Regions from separate parts of the Homo sapiens genome. Here regions 1, 2 and 4 are each linked to region 3. The links are contacts of gene promoters, found by promoter capture Hi-C in blood cells and fetal thymus (Javierre and others, 2016). All regions are on one chromosome and are shown on one strand. Each heading gives the region's core, a stretch centred on a gene start or on the middle of the fragment in contact. The rest is flanking DNA. Distances are from core to core; before and after follow the strand shown.

Evidence for each region. Contacts are between HindIII fragments. The CHiCAGO score rates a contact against its expected background, and 5 or more counts as called.
Region 1: a fragment that was not itself captured here is called in contact with the fragment with the promoter of ROR1 in region 3 in 1 of 17 cell types (naive B cells); the score reaches 6.1 in naive B cells.
Region 2: a contact is called between a fragment that was not itself captured here and the fragment with the promoter of ROR1 in region 3, in 1 of 17 cell types (naive B cells). The highest score is 5.4, in naive B cells.
Region 4: a contact is called between a fragment that was not itself captured here and the fragment with the promoter of ROR1 in region 3, in 1 of 17 cell types (endothelial precursors). The highest score is 5.2, in endothelial precursors.

What each region holds. Positions count from the first base shown.
Region 1 is chr1:63,929,243-63,935,524 of GRCh38, forward strand. The region is part of intron 1 of ROR1 (receptor tyrosine kinase like orphan receptor 1); the gene reads left to right. Among named protein-coding and RNA genes, the nearest start is that of ROR1, 160 kb to the left of the region's middle. The HindIII fragment of the contact is 3,864 bases long and covers 148-4,011 here.
Region 2 is chr1:63,946,622-63,953,419 of GRCh38, forward strand. The region is part of intron 1 of ROR1 (receptor tyrosine kinase like orphan receptor 1); the gene reads left to right. Among named protein-coding and RNA genes, the nearest start is that of ROR1-AS1, 160 kb to the right of the region's middle. The HindIII fragment of the contact is 175 bases long and covers 2,755-2,929 here.
Region 3 is chr1:63,770,472-63,777,242 of GRCh38, forward strand. It overlaps ROR1 (receptor tyrosine kinase like orphan receptor 1), which reads left to right and starts at 3,546. Exons shown (of 9, transcript NM_005012.4): 1 at 3,546-4,037. The coding sequence starts at 3,947. RefSeq lists silencers at 3,613-3,662, 4,447-4,741 and an enhancer at 4,607-5,170. The HindIII fragment of the contact is 6,004 bases long and covers 670-6,673 here.
Region 4 is chr1:64,004,517-64,011,026 of GRCh38, forward strand. It overlaps ROR1 (receptor tyrosine kinase like orphan receptor 1), which reads left to right. Exons shown (of 9, transcript NM_005012.4): 2 at 4,789-4,860. Among named protein-coding and RNA genes, the nearest start is that of ROR1-AS1, 100 kb to the right of the region's middle. RefSeq lists an enhancer at 2,201-2,495. The HindIII fragment of the contact is 3,413 bases long and covers 2,401-5,813 here.

The DNA of each region.
Region 1 (6,282 bases), core at 830-3,329, 160 kb after region 3:
GGTGTGATAAGTCATGATTCCTGACCTTGGGGAATTTTGCAATGTTACAAGCAAGCTGGGAAATAGACACGTATGTGTGAGCATGTTTACCCTGGCCAAATCCCATTTATTCTTTAAATCCCATCTCAAATATCACCTCCCCTAGGAAGCTTTCCCAGAGTTCTCCTAGCAGAGTTTCAGTTCTCTCTCTCTCTCTCTCGGTTGCTTTCATAAAACTTTGCCTTTTACCTTATTGGAGATGTGATTGTCTGCTTCTCTGACTCACATATTAGATTAGGAGCCCCTTGAGGGCAGAGACCATGGAAAAGCAGCCTAGAGGGATGTTATATAGTTCTTATTTATCTCCATAGCTTCTAGTACTTGGGGATGCAGTGTATGCTTATTGGTCAAAATGGTAAATAAATGTAAATGGTAAATAATAATAGCTAACACTGAGTACCTCTTGAAAAGCAGTTCTTATTCCTTCTCTGCTGTAATGATAACTAACATTTACTAAAGGCTTTCTTTTGTTCAGTATGCTTTTTCCTTCAGTAGCTCATGTGATCATCCTGCCTTAGGAGGAAGTATAATTAACAGATTATAAATGAAGAGACTAGAGGCACAAGGAGGTTTTGGGTAACTCATGCTAGAATTCAGATCCAGCAATCTGGCCCAGAACCTGGTCTCTTAACAACTAGATTAATCTGCCTCTCACTGTGAGTCTGTAGACAGAGTGTTAGGACTTTTTTTTATTATTATTATTATTTAAGTTCTGGGATACATGTGCAGAACGTGCAGGTTTGTTACATAAGTATACACATGCCATGGTTGTTTGCTGCACCCATGAACCCGTCATCTACATTAGATATTTCTCCTAATGCTATCCCTCCTCTAGCCCCCCACCCGCTGACAGGCCCCAGTGTGTGATGTTCCCTTCCCTGAGTCCATGTGTTTTCATTGTTTAATGGGTTCTCCTCTCTCTTACTTTAAAGGCAGGGATTCCGGCTTATTGGACTCTGCTGTGAACTGACTAAAGTCATTATCTGTTCAACAGTGGTCAGGTTCTTTCTGGTGGGTTTGGGAACCACATTTCCTCCCCAGCAACCCAAGTTACAATGAAAGCAAGTCATAGGCTAAATTATTCACAAGTACAAGCATTTATTAGCCAGCAAGCATAAAAATCATCGTAAATCTCTTTTCTTTAGGCTCCAAGTAATTCCTTCTTTCTGTCCTTGAGCCCCATGAACCATCCTTGCATAAAAAATTCAGGATAAGACAAGCATAATATTCTGATATCAGGGTTGGCCAGTCTTCCAGCTGCATCAGGTGGTAGACTTACTGGGTGGGACACACAAGACCTTACAGAAGTTTGGACCTAGGTACGACTCCTCTTGTTCATGCTAGAGTGGAGATGCCCATATGATGTTGTAAGCCAATCATATTTCCTGACCATCGCTCATTTTATGAATGAAAAATTATTTCTAATGCCCCATATTAACTGATCCTCATTAATGACTCCTCAAATGCAGATTTAGATAGCAATATGTGAAGTGGTTACAGTTTCCTCCTTTATATTCTTACCAACTTCTATTCACATGTGTGAATTCCTAATTAGTGTACTTGAAATGTTAATAACTATGGCAGGGATGTAGGTCCCTATTTAGGCTACACAAATGTTAACTATCCATCCTCAGAGTTAGATTAAATTTAACTTAGAAACACACATGTTCATCTCAATATCAGTACTCAAGAGCTTTAAAGTAAATCACAGAAGGCCGGATGCAGTGGCTCAGCTTACGCCTGTGATCCCAACACCTGGGGAGGCCAAGAAAGGCGGATCAGTTGAGGTCAGGAGTTTGAGACCAGTCTGGTCAGCATAGCAAAACCCCATCTCCACTAAAAAGACAAAAATTAGCTGGGCATGGTGGTGGGTGCCTGTAATCCCAGCTACTCTGGAGGCTGAGGCACGAGAATCACTTGAACCTGGGAGGCGGAGGTTGCAGTGAGCCGAGATGGCGCTACCATACTCCAACCTGGGTGACAGAGTGAGACTCTGTCTCAAAACATAAAGTAAAATAAAGTAAATCACAGACAATATAAGCAGAAGTGCTTAGAGGTTGTGTAGAACAGTGGAAAGAGGTGTACGTAGCTCTGAGGTCAGACAAAATGGGTTCGAATCCCAGCTTCTCTGTGGCAGTGGGCCAGTGACCACATCTCAGAACCTCGAGTACAGTAGTCTTCCTTTATCCAAGGTTTTGCTTTCCAGGGTTTCAGTTACCCTCAGTCAACTGTGGTCCAAAAATATTAAATGGAAGATTCCAGAAATAAACAACTTCTAGGTTTAAAATTACATGCTGTCCCAAGTAGTATGGTGAAATCTCACGCCTTCCTGCTTAGTTCTGCCTGGGACCTGCATCCTTCCTTTGTCCTGCGTATCTAAGCTGTCTACAATTTCTAGAGCCTATTAGTCACTTCATAGCCATCTGGGTTATCAGATAGATCCTCACAGTGTATACTCATCTTGGTATCACAGTGCTTGTGTTTGAGTAACTCTTATTTTATTTAATAATGGCCTCAAAGTGCAAGAGTAGTGATGCTGGCATATTACTATGTTCTGTTTTATTATTAGTTATTATTGTTAATCTCTTACTGTTCCTAATTTATAAATGATACTTTATCACAGGTATGTGTGTATAGGGGAAAATTGTATATATAGGGTTCTGTACTATACATGATTTCAGGCATCCACTGGGGTCTAGGAACGTACCCCCTTTGGATGAGGGGAAACTGCTATACTCATATTATGTACTCATAATAATGCCTACCTTACATGCTTGCAGTGAGGATTAAATTAGATAATATTTATAAAGTACCTAGCTCAGGGGCTGGCACTGAGCCATCGAATACATAAAGCCAGTATTATTAACCTCAGTTACTGGCCTGTAGCAAGATGCTCAATAGACCTGAGGAGAATGAGTGAAGGGGAGGTTGCCTGGCATGGGAGGAAGAGGTGGAAAAGGTGCAGGGGTGATAGATAGGATTCTTGGCTGGCCTATGGGGGCCCCAGCTGAGTGGGAATGGAGAGGAAGTGGGTTGATGGAGTCCCATTGTGTGCAGAAAGAGGGGACCTCTGCTTGGGTGGAAAATGAGGAAAAAAGGCAGCACTCAGGTCTCGGCAAGAATAGCCCGGCCTCCCTTCCTTCAGCCCATCTTCTGAACTAGAAAAAGGCTGTTGGGTGCTGTATGAGAAGTGAGGCCTACCAATGAGAGTCATCATCATGTAAATTCTCTACCATCCTGGCTTGGTCGGTAGCATTTCTACTGCCCCCAAAGCCAAGGAAGAATGATGCCCCTGATGGTTCTTCCCATTTAGAAGGAACTGCAGTTTACACACATTACCTTACCTGATTCTCAGATGTCCTCAAGTGATGTTATCATGATCTATCATTATTTTCCCTGCTTTATAGAAGGGAAAACAGTCCCAGAGGAGGTAGGTGACTCCTTTAGCCAGTAAGTGACAGAGGCAGGATTTGAACCTGCATCCAGCTGATCCTGTTGCTCTTGCTGTAGAGGAGAGGCAGTGTATGGGTATTCTCCCAGCTTGCTTGGTATTCATTCCACTGATTTTTACCTGGAGCTTGAAGACTGGAACTGGGTGGTAGAATGGCAGGTGTAGGGCCAGAGCTGGTAGAGTGGGTGGTGACAGTTCTGAGCCTTCTTTGCCCACCTGTCTGACAGCCCTTTATCTCTGTAATAATTGCCAAGAGTCCTGAAAGATGCCTCTTCCCTTCCCAGTTGCAAGGCCTGAGATTGAGCCCAGGGATCTTGCCAGCCTTAATTGACTTGTGTTGAAAATTATAAGAACTGACCCTCTTTTTAATTTTCCCTAAATTAAACACTGTGGAGGGATCAAATGGAAAATGACCAAGAGTCCTGAGAAAGGATTATCCATCTGGCATCTGATGGAACTTGAGAGACAGGGCAGCATAGTAGTGGTGCCTGCTGCATCTTATAGCTGTGGGACCTTGGCCAAGCTTCTGGACCTTTCACAGTGCGTTTCATTTCCTTATATGTAAAACAGGGTTAATAATTCTGGCCTCAGATGGTTGTGACAGTCATTGAGATTCTCCATGTTACTTGCATGGTACTAGGCAGGAGCTTAATCAGTGTCCCTTTACATCCCCAGAAGTGGGCTTAAATAGCCCAGTAGGAGTATGAAACCCTCAATCAAATGTCTGGCATATAATAGGTGCTCAATAAGTATTTGCTGAATGAATAAGCATGGTTGCTTTGCTCTCTTTCGTAAGTTTTCTAACTCCATCGCAGAAGGGTTAAGAGACCATTAAGATCTTGCCATTTCTTGGGCAGAGATACTAACATTTATTGAACACCAACTGCTTTGTACGTTTTATCTAATTGCAACAATTCTGAAAATCTTTACTATGCCTGTAATTTAAATGAAGAAATTAGGGCCTTGAGAGGTTCAATGAGAAAACCAAGGTCACCCAGCTAATTGGTGAAGTTGGGATCTGTAGGCAGAGCTGTGACTATAAAGCCTGTGTTCCCACCAGCAAATGTCATGCAGTGTTGAACATACACATCCCAGGTGAGACATGCCCTCTGCCTGGACTGAACATACAAGACCCAGAGCAAGTTCCGCACCTTCGTGTCTGGATGTGGGGTCAGTACAGCTTCTGCACAATGAGCCACAGTGAATAAGGAAGTACAGAGAAGCAGGGTGAGGGCTGATGGGAGCACCAAGGCTTGGGAGCTGGGCTCTGTCTCAGATTTGGCCTCCAGCTAGCTGCTGCTTTGCAGGTGCAGGATTCAGTTTGGGTTGTTGGTGGTGGTGAGGAGGTATGTCAGGGAGAGCAATAAAGCAGTGATAAACATCCCTCATGGTAAATCCCCTATGGTGAACATAAGGGATTTGATGATAAGAACGAGGTCAAGATCCTGTAGGTGAACTCCACTGGTATGGACCTGGGTGGCCGGTATGGAGCAAGAGGCCTTGAGCTTCCCAGTAAGGGCCTGGCTCTGAGCTAGACCCCCCTGGTTTGAACCGAGCCATACCAGTCACCCTCTGTGTGACTTTGGACAAGAGACTTACACTCATTAAGGCTCAGTTTGCTCATCTGTTAGATGGGCATGATGCTGGTGACACCAACCTCATGGACTTGCTGTGTGGATCAAAATGGTATCAGACCCATACAATCTTCAGCATAGTACCTGGCTCCTGTAGTAAGCATATAACAAATATTAGGTGCTATCATTGACACAAAGGCCACATTTTACCCTCAACTTCATTTATTTCCTAAATGGATCCTGTGGGATGGTTTTGACAGATAAAACTGTTTACCAAATTCTTACCCCGTGACTTGGACTTGCAAGGACTGCAAGGCGGAATCTAATTTAACACTTATTTAAATTTAACAGAAAGAAAACATTTGGGTTGGCTTTGTCAGGGTTTCCTTTTTTTAAAAAAGTATATTTTACAATTTTGGCTTTTGAGATATCAGGGTCTTGAGGGACAGACAGCTTACGTCTAATGTCTGGGCCTGAGAAGATCCTGTAAGAGACAGGTCTGTGGGGTCAAATTGGCCTTTCAGACTGAGCCTGCCATAGATTTTCTGAGGATTTAGATGATGTGAAGGGGAGTTAACCCATCCCACATTGTAAATTATTTTTTCAAAGGAAGGATGAGGGAGCCAAGTAACAATTTATCATGCTTCTTTTACATTTTGACTCTGCAAGAATTTAGCAATCTGCCATCCATCTCCAGCTCTGTTTGATTTGGGAGAATTTTTTTTTTTTTTTTTTGGGTAGAGGGGAGAATGATTGTAAACCAAATGTTGAAAAGTAGCCTGTTGGTTTTTTGTTGCAGTGTAAAATATGGTTCAGTAATTCATTGCCCAACCTCCCTCCCCTGCCAACACCACCACCAAAGAAACAAAAACTAATGTCCCTGCTCCTGGACAGCAAGAGTTAATTTTCAGCCTTTGGTTAGGAAAACAGAATGGAGGGAGCTGTATGAACTTTATGCTTATAGCTTAGTTCTGCAAGCCCAGGAGATCATTGGTCAGCATCAGATGAGCTAAGATGCAGTTCTGCAACTGCTGAGGACCAGGTCCTGTTTACCAGCAGAGGGCACAGCCTGTGCCAAGGTACAGCTAATGGGAAGTCAGAGACAGAGTGAAATGGTCAGGTTAATTGTAGAGGGTGGCACAGATCAGGCCTAGGTGTGCTGAACTAAGTAAAATCAAATTTCTCTAACGGAAACCCCAAAAAGTTATTAAAACACAA
Region 2 (6,798 bases), core at 1,592-4,091, 180 kb after region 3:
AGGAAGTAACAGAGGCTCAGAGGGGTGAGATGATTTATATGACTATTAAGGGTCAGAGGTAGGATTTGAATTCAGGTATTTAGATTCTAAATCATGGCCTCTTTCTTCTACATCCAGGCTCTGTATATCTGTGACAGGCACAGGTCATCCTTGCTTCCTCAAGGCATGTTGGATCCAAGACAGAAAAACTGGTACAAAGGATATCCTAATGCCAGACGTGATCTTGTCAAGGGTTGAGGTGGTGGATACCACCACATGCCTGGCTCCTAACGGAGGGAGTAAGGCTTCACCAGACCTCTGACCCTTCTGAAGCCATACCTTTCACAGTCAGGTTTGCCTGAAGCTACCATGATTCACCAGCATACCAAATCCTTCCTGCCAGTGGAGGCTACATTAGGCTGGGAAAGGAATCTTGTGAAAAAATAGATCTACTTCTCCTGACCCGTGTTCTCCAGGGGATTCAGGGAGTCCTCTCTCAGACTGCTGTCTCGGTTCCACGGTGATTGGCGTCCTGAGTAAATACTCTGATAGACTAAACACACGTTGCCCATGTTGGCCCAGGAGCAGCAGTCCGGGAGCGCGCCCAGTACAGTCCCCTGTATGGCAGCCCAACTTGTTAATCATCGCACTGGCAGGCTAGCCAGAATGGGGATATTTAGCTTGGGGCTTATGCATTACCATCTATGCTAATATGGCATTCTTAGAACTATAATTTCCGTTCTGACCTCCATGGATACTCCTTATAGAGAACACAGACATAAAACAATTCTTGAAATGTCAGGAAGAAATTGCATCTAATGGAGGGTACCTCTGCCAAGGAAAACATACTTCAGTGTTAAAGCATTCCCATCCAAACAGGGAAATTTGAAAACTGCTCTTGGGTCTGCATTGAAGCCTGAGCATTTTTCCATGCCCTTTAATAACCTGTAATGTATGTACCAGCCAGCTCCACTGCAGGCTCCCCATCAACCAAGAGGGCTTACTGTGAAGGAGGTGGGGTGGCCGGCGGGAGGTGATAGCTGAGACCTGTGTGAGCTGGTGTCAGCTAGAAGACCTTCCTGGGGGCTAAAGCAAGAAGATTTATAATGGGAACATATACCACATGACATAATGTCCTACCTGCATCTGTTACAGTGGAGAATATGATCCCCAGTTGGGTCTTGAACCCTTGGCCCTCCTGATACCTGATACCAATGAAGCCTATCCTCCACCCTTTAGGATTTCATATTAGGAGACACACAATCTGTCTTCTGAAATCATGCTGGTGAACAGATACCACTTAGTAATAATAATATTATGTTGCTAATAGTTGCTGTCATTATGAGTGTTTATAATATGCCAGGAATAAATACTTTACCTAAATTATCTCATTTTTACCCTGTCAGTAACACTGCATTGGGTACTGCTGTTTTCTCCACTTTACAGAGAAAACTGCCGCACAGAATCGTTAGATCACTTGGCCAAGGTCACACAGGTAGTAAGTTACTGACGTGGAATTTAAAATTGATTTAGCCAGTCCACACTGTTCTAGACCTGTGCAAGTTGATCCCCTGAGATAATAAAACAAACAAACAATGAAAAGAAATTATCTTATCCTCTACACATTTCTATTTTATGTAGATGTTTTACAATAGATACTATAATAGTACAGAACTTCATGTATGTAAGTTCTGAATAAATAAATATACATATATAATAGAGGTTTGTGGTCCAATTTTTTTTTTTTTTTTACTGATTTACAAACATTTGGAGATTGCTATACTTAACTATAAAGTTCAATGGAAAGAAGAGAGTTTCTTTTCCTGATAACTGATATTGATAATATTATGGGAAATCTGATACTTCCAGAGGGTATAAGCCAGATATTTTTGTCTCATTTGCTCACCACCATATTCCCAGTACCAACCCTAATGCCTAGTAGATGTTCAGTAAAGAAGATGGCCATGAAGTTTGGAAACCAGTGAACATACATAATGCTGACTGAATGTTTGTGTCCACTCTCTGCTGCCACGGATTCTTATATTGAAACCCTAACCCCCAATATGATGGTATTAGGAGATGGGGCCTTTGGAAGGTGATTAGGTCATGAGGACAAAGCCCTTCTGAATTGGATTAGTGTCCTTATAAAAGAAGGCCCAGAAAGCTCCCTTATTCTTTCTGCCATGAGATTTACAGCAAAAAGAAAGCCCTGTATGAACCAGGAAGCGAGGCCTTACTGGACTCTGAATCTGCCTCTGCTGGTGCCTTGATCTTAGACTTCCCAGGCTCCAAAACTGTGAGATTTAAGTTTCTGTTGTGTATAAGCCACACGGTCTATGATATTCTGTTATGCCAGCCTGAACTAAGACACACAGTAAATTTTTCATTGCTATGACATTATAACTCATGATATGTTCTGTGACATTGTACAATATGCTTAATGAGCTACCCTACATGTGCTCCAGTGTGCTGTGCAGAACTGCAGTGAGCCAGGTGTACTTTCCTCAAGCCCCGCTCAGGCATCTGAACCATTCCATATAAAGAAGGCAGGAGTGAGTGCTTGCACAGAAAGGGGTTAGGGCAAGTCGGGGACATGGAAAAGAAAAAAGGAAAGGCTAAAATAGACGAAATCAGGTCCGAATTCAATTTCATCAGGTGATTTTTCCTGATTACCTATTGCTCCTTACCTTCTTACCAATGACTTTCTTTTTTCCCACTCCATTCCCCACCCCCCAGAGAAGGAAAGGTTTTTGCCTGAGTGGAGGTAATGGGGTAAGCTTCCATTAAGGTGGAAGATTTGAGCCTGGCTTGGGATAGGCAGGAGAACAGCCACATTTGAATAATGTTTCTGTAGAAACCTGAACTTATTTCATTCTGTGAGATAGCCTGGTTTTCTGCCCATTTTGTGAATTAAGAAACAGAGGCTTAGAGTGTTCCAGCAGCTTTCCCAAGCTTACCTGGAGGGTTTCCTTTTTACGGGTGCTATTTTCTTTCTGCTTCACTCCTCCAGGAGCTGGCCCACATTCACAGAATGTGTCTGGAAAGTGCCATAATTCCTCCAGGTGCAAAGGGCTTAGTAATTTACTCCTTCAGTCTCCTGCTTGATTGTCTCAAAATTGAAAAGGTTTCATGCCATTTTCAGACATGCTTAAGTTTCTCAAAGGGGGTAGCCCGGGAACTTGAGACTTCAGTAGTTTTTCCTTCTTGAATGCCCCTGTCCAGCCAGTGCCCTAACTTGTACAAATCAAGGAAAATGGTTTGTGTGGGGTGGAGGTGGGGTGAATGTTTTCATTTTTCATTAGACGACATTCGTAAACATACTTGTGTTTTCTGGGTTGGTCCAGTTGTCTTGACCTTCGTTTTGTAAGTATCTTGAAGATTCCTTTCTCATCCAAATCTGTTAGAATCACCGCAGTTTCCAAAGTTGGCTAAACATCAGAATCACCTGAGGTGCTTGTTAAACACAGGGAATGTCCTGATAGCCTCTGGAGATTCTGATTAAGTGGACCAGTTACCAGAAAGCAGCCCCAATCCAGGCCCCATGAGAGGATTCTTGGATCTTGCGCAAGACAGAATTCGAGGCAAGTCCACAGATTAAAGTGAAAGCAAGTTTATTAGGAAATTAAAGGAATAAAAGAATGACCACTCCATAGGCAGAGCAGCCCCAGGGCTGCTGTTTGGCTGTTTTTAACGGTTATTTCTTGATCATATGATATATTAGGGGTGGATTATTCATGAGTTTTCTGGGAATTCTTCCTTTCAGACCATATAGGGTAACTTCCAGATGTTGCCATGGCATTTGTAAACTGCTGTGGTGCTGGTGGGAGTTTAAGTATGGTAATGCATTATAATTCACATATAATGACCAGTGAGGACGACCAGAGGTCACTTTCATCGCCATCTTGGTTTTGGCTGCCTTCTTTACTGCATCCTGTTTTAGTAGCAGGGTTTTTGTGACCTGTATTTTGTGCCAACCTCCAATGTCATCCTGTGACTCTGAATGCTTAACCTCCTGGGAATACAGGGCAGGAGCTTTCAGCCTCATTTTACCCAATGCCTATTCAAGATGGAGTCACTCTGGTTCCAAGGCCTCTGACAGACCTAGGGCAAGTTCCCCAAATGTTTGTTTTTAACAAGCACCACAGGTGAATGCAAGGGCAGCCAGATTTGGGAGCCAGTGAGCTATCAAACACTTTTAAGGGGAATACATGAGAGATTCCCTGCAAGAGTTAAACTATTTTGATACCACAGTGAAGGGAGCAGAAAATGACATTGAAATTTCATCAAAGCTATACACCTACACAGGTGAGATTACCACTCATCATGGGAAAGGATGATGAAAATACAACCAAAAACCTTCATCGAACAATACTCTTTACTACATTTACTAGAAAATCCTAGCAAATTCAAAAATAACATGTGAAATAAAGCCCTGAACTTTTCATCCTTTAGGAGCAGGAAGTTCTCTTTGGGGATTGGCTGAAGTAGAAGGAGCTCTGCAAGAGCCAGTAAGTGGTTCCTTGTCTGTGGTTGTTAGCAAAAGAATGACCATGGCTCACCTCAGAGGTCACAGAGAAGGGAGGTAAAGAGGACAGTTAATTTCTTTACCAGGATCTAATTTATCATTTGGGTTTTCAGAGAATGTGGGAGGTGGCTGTTGGGCTTGTTTTCTTTTGCAGCAAAGCTTTTTAGAGCATGACTATGAGGCAGGCATTGTTCCAGGCACCCTACACTGTTGCACCAAAGTCCCTTAAGAGCTGACGTTCTTGTGGTAAAGACAGATAATAAGCAACTAAATGAAATACTAATACAGATCATGTCAGTCAATGAAAGTGATATGAGGAAAATAGGGTAAAAGAGGGGGGCTGGGGAGAACTCGTCTCTGAGGAGGGGACAACTTTGAACGGAGGCCTGGCTGGCACAGCAGGTGCCATCAGGAGACCTGAGAGAGAATGATCTCTCACACAGAGGCAAAGGGAATAGGAATGTGTGTGGGAGGATTTCCCAGGGAGCCATGAAGATGACGTTCTGGGCTCCACCCTTTATGCCTCTCCAGGGGCCTAGGAGGGGCCTTAGCTATTTTGCATTTGTAATTTCTCTTAAAGACACCCCCCCCTCACCACCAGCCCACATGCTGCCCACTCTGCCTACCCACACCTAGTTATAGAAGCTTTAGACCCCATAAAACCTGGATCTGCCCCTGAGAACCAGAAGTACAAATATGCTGAAGTAGGGAACAAGCTTGGTGTAGTCTAAGAGCCTTAAGAAAAAAGAAAATTGGTGTAGACGAGCTGTGCTTAAGATGGAGTTTAATAGTAGATTCATTCATTCATTGGTTCATTTATTAAATATCAATTTACTGAGTGCCAGGCACTACTATGAAAAAAATAAGGTCCCTGTCCTAGTGGAGCATCCATTCTAGTAAAGAGAAACAGAAAATAAACAAATACCTATATAATGTCCCAGGTGACAATGGTTAAAAATGAAATAGGTCAAGGGGGGATATAGGGTTAGGGTACGATGGGGTGGTAAAGTGTAGCTGTTTTGTAAGGGATGGGAAAGGAAGGGCTCTCACAGTTCTGGTCTGAGCTGAGATCTGGAGGAGGTGAGAGAGTGGGCCATATGGGGGAAGAATACTCCAGGTGGTGGAATAGCAAATAGAAAGGCCCCCAAACAGGAACATGCTGGGCCTTTTCGAGGAAGGTCCTAGAAATTGAGAAAAGCAGAACTAGGTGATGGAGGACCTAGGTAAGGAATTTGGATTTCATTCTATGAGCTGTGGGCAGCCTTTGGACAGCCAGTGCTCTAGAAGTCTAGGGAAGGAGAGAGCATGGGACATCAGAGGCCTCACAGCTGACTTTAAGATGGGCCTGGAAGTATCCAGTGGGCAGAGTTCAGCATAGAAAGAAGGCCAGTGGCAGCCACTGCAGGGCCCCAGGCATGGAGCTAGGAAAGGTAACCTGTCTGAGGGCCTTTGACAGACCAGTGCTGCCTGGAGCTGGAGTTCTCTGAGGGAGAGTGCTGGGGATGAGGTTGCAAAGGTACCTTTGCCTGAAGCATGGAGAGCCTTGAAGCCAGGCCAGGGGAATTTGATATTTACTAATGTGAATACCTGAGTGCCCTGAGAATAGTGGGGACTCCAAAATTTCTGTCTAGGAGCAATTTAAGGATAGCTCTCAGGTGGAGGGTAGGGGTGATGGAAGGGGTAGAGGATCTGTCTTAGAGCTAGCAAGCAAAAGATTTTACCTAGGTTGTGTATTTACTTGAGGGTGGTTTTGGGAAAGGGCAGTGGTAAAGTTTTGAGGTCTTGCCCTAAAGCTACACTGCATAGCAAACACACTGTTTTTACTTGGATGGTATCCTATTTGGGGTTACTAAGGGGATGGGGATCAATGAAAATTATGGGGCATTAATCCTTGGCTCTGTCCTGGGAGAATGAAAATTACATAATGAAAGGTGTGATTTAGAAAGGTGGTCAAGAGTGAGTGTGGGGAGGCATTCACTCATTCATCCATTCATCCACTTAGCAATTGTTTATGAATACTCCAATGTGCCAAGTGGCAGAATGGAACTTGTATATTCCTGTGTTCACACTCTGTTCCTACCACTTACTACTTGTGTCATCTTGGGCAGCTTTTATTTAATCTCTTAGAACCTCAGTTTCCTTGTCTATAGAATAATAATACCAGCAGTCCCCTCTTATCTGTGTGGGATATGTTCCAAGATGCCCACTGGATGCCAAAAACCATGGATAACACTGAGCCCTATATTTACTATGTTTCCTACACATGTGTACCTATGACAACAATAATAACTAGT
Region 3 (6,771 bases), core at 2,296-4,795:
TTGCCCTGCTCTTGTTCCATTTTCCCACTATGCCTTACAGTGATAATAAACAGAACCGTGTGTGCCAGTGCAAGAGGCCAGGGGAGATGAGTGCCTCTGTAAGTAGCAGGAGCCTCAGCCAGTACCTCAGGTTGTGCCAGGCCCCTGGGAAGTGAGTAGCTTCACCTGGGTTCTCTTATCCATTTGTGTCAACTTCTGGCTTCCTAAAAGAGAGGGCATGGCCAAAAGAGGCTTGTGAGAGGAACATTTAGATTGCTTGGAGCTTTTATCATAGCCCACCAGGGGTTTGAGACAGTGGTGTATAGTGTAGAGAGATATTTGACTTGGGATGGAGTCCTGCCTTTTTGCTTTAATTTTTTGACTCTGGGCAAGTTTTAAAAACTCACTTCACTTAGCCCATTTGTTAAAAATGGGCTAAGACCAACCTTATTTTGATGATATAAGTAGGTTCATGCAGTAAATAATAATAACGATAATATCTGCCATTTATTAGGTGTCTCTCTGTGCCAGATACTCATAAAAGCACTTTCTAAGAGTTAACTCAATTAACACTAACCACAGCATGAAATAGGTGCTATTATTATCATCATCATTTTACAGGTGAGAAACAAAAGTACAGGCAACTAAGATATTTGTCCATAGTCACTCAGCAGAAACCAGAGAAGCTGAAGCTTGAGACCAAGCAGCCCAGCTCCCCAGCCTGTGCTCTTAAACATTGGCATTTACTGAACTTGCATAAATAAATAAATATACATATACACATATATATATTTTGCATATTATATATATTTTACCTCTTTTACTTTTTTAAACAGGAAAAGCCTTTTCTAACACCCCCCCACCCCAGCATTTTTTTTTTTTTTTTGAGATGGAGTCTTGCTCTGTTGCCCAGGCTAGAGTGCAGTGACGCTATATCCACTCACTGCAACCTCTGCCTCTCAGGCTCAAGTAATTCTCATGCCTCAGCCTCCCGAGTAGCAGGGATTACAGGTGTGTCACCACGTCTGGCTAATATTTTGTATTTTTTTGTAGAGATGGAGTTTCACCATGTTGGCCAGGACGGTCTCGAACTCCTGATCTCAAGCAATTCACCCACCTTGGCCTCCCAAAGTGTTGGGATTACAGGCATGAGCAACCGTGCCAGGCCATTGCTAACCTTTTCTTTGGAAACTTGTGTGCTATAGCTAAACTGAAGGAATCTGGGATGATTTGATGATGGTCCTTACCCAGGTCTGGACTGGTAGGTCTAGGTCCTAGTTTTGGCTCTGGCCAGCTTTGGGCAAGGCGGTTTCACTCTCCTAAGTCCCACATGTCTCCTGTATAAAATGTTGAGGGGGGTGTACTAGTTAATTTCCAAAGCCCTTTCCAGGTCTCACATTCCTTATGTCTATGATTCTGTGATTAAGTTCCTGGAAGTTTAAGTACTGATAAAAGTGCCATTAAGTTCTGTATACTCAGCACTAGCAGCTGTCTGTTACCTAAGATACCTGGGCCTAGGAGTTATAGGGTGGGGGCTGGGGGCAGGGTGGGTGGATGAGAAAGGCTCCTTGTCTGACAACTGTGTGTATTGACTGTAGACAACAGAGGACTGCCCAGCACTGTGCAGTGTAACTGAGTATCCTCTGATTTCTGGGCTGTGATATACTAAGACTGACCATCAAAGACTGTTTCCCAACAAGAGAACCTTGTGCAGTAAGTTCCTCAGGCAAGAAGCGAGATAATTGGGACAGGATTGAATAGATCTCAGGCAGAGAAACTTGGGGGACAGATCAATGTAGGTAATGAACTGGTTGACCCAAGGCCTCTCTGTCTATCATTTTTTGACCTCAGGTCAGAGCGATAGAAAGGGGGAAAACTACCGACACAGCTCCTGCCATGAAGTCCTGGAGAAGAATAAGTGACTGTTTGTCCCGCATGGGTTAGTCATTCACCTGCCTGAAGGCAAAGGGCTGGGAGTCTGGAGTCCATGACCTGCTGGGACATACTTTGGGCTGCATTTTTTCCCCCTTCTAATGTCTCAGCTCTCAGGGATCTGCTTTTCCTGGTGCCAAGGAGTATGGATGAAATTTTGTCCCTCCTCCATGCACCCCTATAAAACAAATATGATGAGAAATTAATATTTTCCAAATGGTGACCTAACCTTTGTTCATTAATTGAGCTCCTATTGCATTCCAGGTACTGTTAGAGGCCAGCAAGATACCTAGATGATTGAGACAGAGTCCTCGCCCTCCATGAAGTGACTGTTCATTTTAAAACCCTAAAGCTGGGTTCTTAGAGGCTACTGCAACAGCAACAACTCCCGAGTGAGTGCTTATCATGTGCCAGGCTCTGGTTACAGGCTTTAACTCTCTCAGTGGAAACAGCCTGAGTGCTGGCTTGGCTACCCCATGTCTGTGAGACTGTGGGCAAGTCATTTACTTTCCCTTTGAGTTTCAATTTCTAAAACTGTAATATGGGGATAATATATGTAAAACAGCTAAGAAGTATATACTTTTAATGACTCTTTTTAGTGTCAATGGAGGATTTGTGAGCAAATGCATATAAAACACAAGGCAAACAGGAGGTATTTAGTAAGTGGCCACGTGATTATTGAGAGACTATGGGCTTCTTCCTGTTCCTCCAGAGCAAGACTGACAGGTGTCCTATTACCCTTGCATCTTCAGAGCCTAGAGCACAGCCCTGAAAACAGCAGGCGCTCACCACTTTTTATGATCAAAGGCAGTCTCTACAGGGAAAGTCAAATCATTATGGGTATTTATGAATTACAAAATCCATAAAGTTAAACCAGGAGAAATGGACAAAAACACACTCATTGTAGAGGTCTTTAATGATCCCTTGGCTCATGGCAGAGCAGCTAGACAAAAAACAAACAAACAAACAAACATGCAAAGATTCAGAAGGCCTGAAAAAATAATGAATACAAAGAAGATAAATCGATACAGTATTCTATCTTCACATTCGGAAGACAAAAACACCTTTCAAAAAACCATGGGACATTGGCAAAAATAACCACAGATAATCCTCAATAAATCTTGCCAGGAGGCAGTACAGATGACATTGAATTCAGTGAGACTACAAATTAAAGACAAAAAGGCGAAGTATAAATTACTTGTGTAAGAACTCTCTCAACTCTTGGGTCCAAGAAGAAAGCAAAAGGGAAATTGTATGATAGCAATAAATGTGCCATTACCCAGAGTCACACAGCTAACAGTGACACAGCTGAGGCTGCTAGAACCTGGGTCTACTGTCGTCCAGCCACGAACTGGCTTGAGATCCCGGATAAGTCTCTCTGAGCCTCGGTTTCCCCTTCTGTCAAGTAGCCTCGAAGGTCCCCGGCGCTCGGTTCGGTGGCGAGTTTGAGGAGTGTGGGGGAGGGGAGGGGAGGGAGCGTGCCCGAGACGCGGGAGCCGCGACCGCTTTCTGCGAAGTCGGGGAGGGTGCGGGCGTTGAGAGGCTGCAGCAGAGGGCGCTGGGTCGCCAGCCTGGGCCGCGTCTCCCATTGGTCGGGGCTGGGGCGCTGGGCTGGAGAGTTGGTGGAAAGTGACAAGTTGAGCGAGAGAGGGAGCGTGGAGAGCTGGAGCAGCCGCCACCGCCGCCGCCGAGGGAGCCCCGGGACGGCAGCCCCTGGGCGCAGGGTGCGCTGTTCTCGGAGTCCGACCCAGGGCGACTCACGCCCACTGGTGCGACCCGGACAGCCTGGGACTGACCCGCCGGCCCAGGCGAGGCTGCAGCCAGAGGGCTGGGAAGGGATCGCGCTCGCGGCATCCAGAGGCGGCCAGGCGGAGGCGAGGGAGCAGGTTAGAGGGACAAAGAGCTTTGCAGACGTCCCCGGCGTCCTGCGAGCGCCAGCGGCCGGGACGAGGCGGCCGGGAGCCCGGGAAGAGCCCGTGGATGTTCTGCGCGCGGCCTGGGAGCCGCCGCCGCCGCCGCCTCAGCGAGAGGAGGAATGCACCGGCCGCGCCGCCGCGGGACGCGCCCGCCGCTCCTGGCGCTGCTGGCCGCGCTGCTGCTGGCCGCACGCGGGGCTGCTGCCCAAGGTAAGAGGCGCCCGCCGGCCCCCGCCCGCCCAGACCCCCTGACCCGTGGCCACCCTTCCGCCGTCCAGCCGGGCGCGGGACACGCAGGAAGCGCCGCGCTGGCTCCGGGGCGCGTCCGGCCACCCGCCACGGGGCTCGCCGGCGCCGCCAGGCCAGGGTTTGCCCCGGAGCCCCGCCAGGCCAGGGTTTGCCCCGGAGCCCCGCGGCGGGCCGGGGCGCGCCCAGGGACTCGTTCCTCGGTGCGCAGCAGCGATTGTCAGCGCTGACAGGAAGCGTGGAGGGGTTTGAGGGTCCTGGGGGTGATCGGGGCACTTCTGTGCAGGGCGTCCCCCCTTGTCTCCCTGGACCTCTAGCGCGCCCCAGCCGGTGTTCAGGCAAGTCTATCCTGCCCCCAAGTTGCGAGCCGGCCCGGAAGGCGCGGTCCAGGAGGGAGTTTGGATTTTCAGTGGTGCTCGCCAGAGCCCAGGCGGCTCGCGGATCGACGCAAACAAAAGCCCTGTCCTCCTGGGGCTCCGGCGGCCTCGCATCGCCACCGCCCCCGGCCCTCCGGCCCTCCCGAGAGTCATCATAGAGGCCAAAACTTGTGCGCCGCTGCAGCCGCTGCCACTTTGTGCAAAATGTGCTGTCAGAGGCGGCCTGCGGCTCCAAAGTGCTTTGGGTGTGCACGCGCGCGCGCGCGCGTGTGTGTGTGCGTGTTACAAACAAGAGGGGGAAAAGCCATCTAATGCATATTTGATTTTGGTAATCTCTAAAGACAATCGCAACAGTTAGAGAAAGACTTCACCGCAAGCCGGAGCGTCTTAGTTCGCTGCGGGAAGCTGGGGTCCTTGCTGCGTCTGAGCCGGTACACAATGAGAGGGAAGAGCCCGGCTGAGCCTGTGGAGACAACCGATTCATTCTTTGGAGGTTGGAGGGGGAAAGTTGATTAAAGTCTCCGGGGTCTCGGGCCTCACTTTTAACATGCATCCCTTGAGGGGGTGAGGAGCCTTTGGATTCTGCCCTCCCCCACTCCCAGCCCTAAACCTGAGCGGATAAATAGATCTCTGCTCTTTTATCATGCATCTTTCATTTTTAAGTTAGCACTGTGTTTAGGAAAAGAAAAAGTTCTGCGCTACTTAGCAGTTGAGAGGAAAAAGATGTATTCACTACATAGACTACGAATGCAGAATTAGTTTTTACTAAAAGTTAGCTGACTTTCTTGGTAGAAAACACACTCTGGAAGGAAGTTGTGTGAAATTTTGATTTCTTAGAGATGGTTTTTGGAAGCTAGAGTAGCATTTTCTGAGGATGATTTCTGAAACGGATCCTATAATGTGGTCGTGCTAATCTGAAAGCTCCTGGGGGTAAATAGAGCTCCTAATTGTAATTAAGATGTGCATCAGCAGGGAGTGCACCTTCCTGATGAAAAATCCTAATGAAATGTAAACAGCTTGGTCACATAGATGTTTTGCTTGGTGATGCCAAACATCTGGCCTTGCGCCACAACACCTGGGTGAAAAGTAAAAATGGGCCATGCTGCCTAAGTAATGTAAACATCCTTCTCAAGTTGGGTTGCCCAGCAAATTGAGGTGGAGATAAGCAGGGTGATTTTAACTAAGGTGGGACTCCTGGCTTGGGGCTTTGGTTAATTCAGTTATTTCCCCTGTGGACTCCTTTACTTTGTACTTCACCTTTCAACAATAGTTGCTTTTAGATCATAGCCCCTTGTGGGGGTGGGGGTCACTTACCTTTAAATACATGTCCCTGCATTGATTTTGCTCACTGTAAACACCCTTCTTATCAGCAGCCACCCCAATTCTGTCTCCTTTAACTGTTTACAGCCTTTTAGAGTTGTTTAAAAAAGGTATTGCCTATTCCATTGTAGCAGGAGGAGCCACAGACAAAACTCCTCAGACACCCAGTGAGCAATTCCTGTCCCTTTTAAGGGCTCACAACTCTAAGGGGGTCCACGTGAGAGGGTCATGATGGGTACATGACTGGGGGCTGCATGCACTGGTAATCAGAACGAAACAGAACAGGATAGGGATTTTTACACTGTCTTTCCATACAATGTCTGGAATCTATAGATAACATAACCAGTTATGTCAGGGGTCGATCTTTAAGTACCAGGCTTAGGTCAGGCAGGCCCAGGCCTGGTTTCGGGTCTGGTTCCTTGGTTTCAGGTCTGGTTCCTAGGTGCCGGGCTACCTGCCTTTAATTTCGCTTCTCTTTCCTTTTCTGAGTATAAAACAATATAAAACAATATGAGAGGGTCTGTCTCTCTTCTCTCACCATACTCTTTAGTAATGAGCTCAAATCTGTTATTATTGTCTTATTTGTTGTTTTATAAATCCCTTTCCATTTTGTGAATGTTTGATCTTTTCTCTGGGGTCAAGACTTCTGGTAGAACTCACGTTTACTTTCTCCTCTTGGACTCAAGATTCCTAAGGTAGCCCAGCCAGTGGCTCAGGAAATCAGCTTAAGCGGAGATATGTTTCATGTATTTATTTAAAAAGATACAAAACATTTCTCCCATCATTTTTCTATTTTGTTAGCCAGGAGAAGAAAACCTTTAAATTTATTTTTTCTGGTCTGTCCATTGTTGATTTCTCATCTACCCCCTCCCTATGCAAAGCTCAACTTCTTTAGGAACCTGAAGCTTACCTTATAACTGCACCCAAGCCCAGGGCTTTAGGAACCTACCTGGCCTTTCTCAAAATCTTATAGATTCTGTGGTTTGGCTGCTGGGAGCCAG
Region 4 (6,510 bases), core at 2,857-5,356, 230 kb after region 3:
GCCACTTGCTTCTCTTGCATTCAGCCTTTGCAGCTACTGGGCTGGCCGCTGGTCTTGTGAGTATGCGCATGCCTGTGTAACCTCACGCATCACTGAATCGGGGATACAGGATGTGGCATGGCTGGGAGCTTCTTGGAAGGGCCTCCACATCCTGTGAATGTTGGGTCTTTACCTGCCAACTGCTGAGATGAACCAGTAATCCTTTCGGAGAGCACAGGCTTTTATCAATGAGGAGGATTCAAGGCTTACTTTTTCCTTCCTTCCAAATAACACTCCCACTGTTGAGGCTTAAATACCAAAACCTTATGGTTTGCAGAATCAGTGCCAAAAAGTCAATCCTCCGAGAAACTGCAAAGATAATAGCCCCTATTGATCAAATCGGGAGGAGAATAGCTTTTGAGGTTTGCCCTCCTAAAAGAGGTCGAGAAAGATAAGGGTTGGAGTTTTCTAAAACATGCTTGGTTTGCTCAAATTGGATAAAACCATATAAAAACACTTATGTTCTTAGAGAACTGGTGACCAATTCAGGAAAACCTCACAAAATGAAAAGACTGGCTTGGATTAGTGAGGCATGTGAAATGCAGTGTCTTTCTAAGAGCATGGTAAATGTGTTATTTCAAATACAGACAGTGACTTAGTAGCTAACCAAGTACATCCATGCAGAGGATGGCCACTGTCTGCCTTACTAGACAAAGGAGAGGTATGAAAGCCCTTGAGTCTCTATGCTGGACACTGTACAGGAGTCTTTTGGTCCATTAGTTAATCATTACCTCAGTCCTTTGCTGCTCCCATTTTATGGATGAGAAAATAGAAGTTAAATGATGTTCAGTAACTTTCTCATGATCACAAAATTAATAAGTGTCAGATAGTAGTGTTAAAATCTGGTGTGTATTTCCATTAAATAGTCTACTGTCTTCTAAATGGCACATACACATTTGCTATTACCATAATGCTTTTGGTGAAGAGAGGCTGCCAGGCTGGTGGTAAATATACCTGGAAATGTCTCATGCTTTTGCCAGTGGTGAGGCGAATAGGAATCCATCAGTGGAGATCCTACAGGGTCAAAACTTGTGGCCGTGTCTCTCTCTGAAGCCACTGGTGGCCATGGAATTGATGGAGTTCAGCTGAGATGTGCTTGATTTTTCTCACTTAAACTTCAGTTTTCCTTTCAGTGAAGAAAAAAAGCTTATTAAACATCACTTTGTGAGGGGAGATTATTAATATTCAACTTTCTACATAAAATAATCAGCCTTTATTTTAAAAAAATATGGCCTTGGAAGATATTATTTTTCAGGGAAGTTATTCATATTTTAAAATATTTTATCTGTTTTTATTATCATTTTATCTGAGAAGCTGAACACGTGGTTATCTAAAGGAATGGATCTTGAAGTTGAGAACAAAACTCCCCAGAATCAGCACAATCACTTAATGAGCTTGCGAATTGAAATTATCTTTGCTACAGCCCAAGAACTGAGTGGTAATTAGTGTCCAGGGACACGTGGGGAACAATTTCAGTGTTAGCAGTGCCAAGAATCTATTCATTTGTCATTGGTCCCAAATTATATTCAATCAGCAATTCAACTCAGCTTGGAAAAACCAAGTGACATATAGCTAACTGTCTATAAAATTAACACTGTAAAATGAAACTATATTTCTGGCTGTGAGCAGCAGTAAGATGAAGCTATGAAAATATTGCATGTAAATGCTGTCAAGGTTCATTTTAATCCCACCACTTTCCAACCTATGCTTCCTTCCCTGAAATGCCGCCTTGGCTGCCAACCTTCTATTCCCAAGCTCCCTGAAGTCTGGGTGTCGGGGTGTTTGATGAGCCTTTTCATAGGTGAACCGCAGCAGTCCATACTACTGAAAACAAGGGCTGTCATTATTGAAAGAGCCAAAGTGGGTGGCAGCAGCATGGGGCTCAGACTGGAGTTGGGGTTGGAGTCATATGTGGAGGGCCCTGAAATGTAGACAATTAGCTCTTCTGGGGAAAGCACCTGCACGAAATACCCGTTCCCCAAACAAGAGGTTGATAACAGAAGCACTGCTTTCCACTGTGGCTTTGTAGTAAGCATTTCTCCTACTTGGGTAAAATTTTCTTTTTGTTTTCATATTTTGGAATTAAGATCCCTGCCATACTGCCTATCTGACATCTGGTCCCCTTGAAAGAGTCTATGCTATTTTTGGCTCAGGACGTTGGAGGAAACCAGGGCCACTGTAGGTGGGGAGGGTATGTGTGGTTCATCTACTTCTTTCCCACCTGCTTCTAGGACTAGGAAAGAGGTAAGCCAAGGAGGTCTGCACAAACCAAACAATCCTTTTGTCTCTGCTGTGGCAGGGAGATAAACTAGAAGTATGCCTTTGCAAGGTCTCAGTGAGTCAACATCCTGTTCTTGTTCAAGCTTAGTCAGTGACGATGACATGTGGCCATTTGGCAGACAGTCACCATCAGTAAATATGGAAATACGAAAAATGTGCTTATCTCTGTGAAAAGGTGAGGCCAGAGGTAAGGTGAAAAAAAAAAGCCAGGTTTTACAGGCTTGAGTACTGGTCAGCATGGGCTGCCAGAAGGTGTGGAGTGCTAGAGTCAAAGAGACCTGGGTTTGAATTGCAATTCTTCCACTTAATAAAGTTCATCCTGCATTCTATCTCAGATCAATTTTTAGTGGCTACCTAGAGCACTGTGCTTAAAGGACTCTACGACAGATCCCAGGCTTAACAGGTAAACAGAGCCATAATTGATTAAAGATGCCTACACTGGATTGAAGTAGGAGGGATTGACAACTTGTATGCCTTATAGCTAATGACCCTGGGTCCTCTAAGGTCCTGTCCAGCCCTAATATTCTCTAGTAATGTTCTGAGTGTGTGTGTGTGTGTGTGTGTGTGTGTGTGTAGACATAGCCTGAGGGGAGGTTAGTATAACCCCATTACAATATATTAGTAGCGTGGATTAAATTTTCAAAAAACAAGAACAACAACCAAGATTATTTGTATATTACAGTCTATTATTAAAGAGTTTTAACAGCCCGTAAGTACTTCTAACAGTCCATAAGTACTTCATAGTGTATTATGTCCTTTAGATTATTGATTTGTATGTTTGCTTTGATTCATGATGGCTTTGAAAATTATATTTTAAGTTATTTACCACAAATGACTCTCTATATTCAAATACTTAGCTTTCATTTGTCTTGACCTAAAATTCCAATGTAGAGAAACGAATTTCTCTATTCACAGAAATGGTAACAATTCCAAACACGACCAGTGAAATTAGTTACAGGAGCAATGTTGTTCTTCCTTAGGAAGGCTATTAAATTTATTAGTCTAAGACTGGTCTTTCAACAAGAAAAGGAGTTTATGTTTGATTATGTGTGGTCATTTCTGCAGATTTGTTTTCTTGTTAATGTAGTATTTTAGGGGCGAGGTGTATTTTGCCCTTGTTCTTTTTTTTTTTTTTTTGCAATTTCCATTTTTATTTTAGATTCAGAGGGTACATGTACAGGCTTGTTGTGAGAGTATATTGCATGATCCTGAGGTTTGGGCTTCCATTGATCCCATCACCCAGATAGTGAACATACTACCCAATAGGTAGTTTTTCAACCCTTGCCCCACTCCCTCTATCCTTTTGTAATTCCAGTGTCTATTGCTCCTATCCATGGTACCTATGATTTTACTCCCACTTATAAGTGAGAACACATGATATTTGGTTTTCTGCTTCTCTGTTAATTCACTTAGGCTAATGGCCTCCATCTGCATCCATGTTGCTACAAAGGACATGATTTCATTATTTTTATGGCTACATAGTATTCCATGGTATATATGTACCACATTCTCTTTATCCAGTCCTCTGTTGATGGGCACCTAGGTTGATTCCATGTCTTCGCTATTATGAATAGTGCTGTGATGAACATATGATGCAGGTGTCTTTTTGGTAGAATAATTTATTTTCTTTGGGGTATATACCTTGTAATGTGATTGCTGGGTTGAATGGTAGGTCTATTTTTAGCTCTTTGAGAAATCTCCCAACTGTTTTCCACAGTGGTGGAACTAATTTACATTCCCCCAACAGTGTATTAGCATTCCGTTTTCTCTGCATCCTTGCCAGCATCTGTTATTTTTTGACTTTTTTTGTTTTTTTTGAGATGGAGTCTCGCTATGTCAGCCAGGCTGGATTTCAGTGGCACCATTTCAGCTCACTGCAACCTCCGCCTCCCAGGTTCAAGCGATTCTCCTGCCTCAGCCTCCTGAGTAGCTGGGATTACAGGTGCATGCCACCAGGCAGGGCTAATTTTTGTATTTTTAGTAGAGACGGGGTTTCATCATGTTGGTCAGGCTGGTCTCGAACTCCTGACCTTGTGATCCACCTGCCTCGGCCTCCCAAAGTGCTGGTATTACAGGTGTGAGCCACTGTGCCCAGCGTGACTTTTTAATGATAGCCATTCTGACTAGTATGAGATGGCATCTCATTGTGGTTTTGATTTGCATTTCTCTGGTGGTAAGTGATGTTGAGAGGGTTAATGTAATATTTTACATTTTAATTTTCAAGCCAGTGTTTTGAAGTAAAAATCTTCAAATCTGGCCAATAGATTGTTCATTTGGATGGCATCTAAAATGCAGGCGCCTCTACTGGCATCTAGAGCCACCATTCCAGTCTAATAAGCTATGGGATTGCCGTGGTCTCTCTCCAAAGGCAGGCCCTTTGGAAATCTCCTCTAATGCTTCTAACAGCCTATAAATTACTATATTTAATATTGCCCTTGTCTTTCTCCCTTCCCTTCTTTTTCTTTTCAGAAACAGAGCTGTCAGTCAGTGCTGAATTAGTGCCTACCTCATCATGGAACATCTCAAGTGAACTCAACAAAGGTACACAGTGGGGGCACACAGGGGAGGCGAGGAAAGAGGTGTGGAACTGTTTTTAATCCTGGCATGACCTTCTTTGAAATCAACTGTTTTTCAGATCACTGCAAGGAGGTGGGGGCCAAAATAAATCCCCAGCTTACTTTGTGATCATTTAACATTGAATTACTTGGGATTCTATTATTTCTGGAGAGTTTCTTTCCCCCCCTCGTTCCTTTTTCTTCTTCCTCTAAAATGTTCCACATGGTAAAAATGCTTCAAGATGTGAAATAGGGTCATTTCTGACCTTTCTGACACTACATCTAGTGGATCTTATTTAGGGGATTTGATTCAGCCCAAGCCAGGATTCATCAGAGCTGTTTGCTCGGTGACCTTTCACGATGAGCATTTGATGTGCTTGCAGGGTTCAGGACCGAGTATCTGGAATGTTTGTAATTGCCTGTGCATAAGGATGGCAGCTTCCTTTGTGCACGTGGGGAACAGGTTTCTGCTAGGAGATTGTTGTTTAGCATTAATTAAGCCCCGCCATATGTTAAGCATTGGGTATTTTATAAAGACCCTATGTCCTGGAGTGGTACATCAGGACACATTCAAAACCTCTGCAGTCTGGCTCAATCTACCTTTCTAGCCTTAGTTATCTTTATTCCCCTTTATGCATTTCCAGCCAAATTTCGATTTCTTCTTATACATCCTGTGCTTTTCTGCCTCTCTGCTCTCACCTTTTCACCTGGATTGCCTTCTCTTCTTTGCCAATACTCATTCTCCCCCTTTTGCAAGGCAACAAATTACTTCTCCCTCAAGACCAAGCATAAAATTTACATTATCCAGTCTTGTCTAATCCCTCCAGCTGGAAGTGGCCTTTCCCTCTTTGAAACTCCCATAGCTCTCTTTCTTCTCTGTTCTTCTCTTCACATTTTCTATATGATGTTATGGTGATTTATATACTTATCTCACCCTTAAGCTTAGAAGTTCCTTGTAGGAGGGTTTCTATCTTACTTTTTTTTTTTTTTGGTCTCCATCACAAAATCTAGCACAAACTCTTATTTGTAGGAAATTCTCAATAAATGTGTGTGGAATGATGAGTCACATCTTACCTGGTGAGAAGCCATAGCCATACATATTTGTGTGCAAATACATTCAGCAAACTTACTGAGTTTCTACTTTAGTTCAGGCATGATTCAAGGTTCTGAGATTACAGTGGTAAAGGGAGCTCAAAAGTCATTGTCATAAATGGTCTTTTATGATTAGCTCTCTATTGTCTACTGACATAGTTTGGTTGTGTCCCCACCCAAATCTCATCTTGAATTGTAGTTCCCATAATCCCTACGTGTTGTGAGAGGGACCAGGTGGAGATAATTGAATCATGAGGGTGGTTTCCCCCATCCTGTTCTCATAATAATGAGTTAGTTCTCATGAGATCTGATGGTTTTATAAGGGGCTTCCTCCTTCGCTGGGCACTCATTCTCTCCCCTGCCGCCCTGTGAAGAGGTGCCTTCTGTCATGATTGTAACTTTCCTGAGACCTCCCCAGCCATGTAGAACTGTGAGTCAATTAAACCTCTTTCCTTTATAAATTACCCAGTCTTGGGCAGTTCTTTATAGCAGCATGAGAACAAACTAATACATCTACTAATACATTCACTGTAAGTTGTATTTC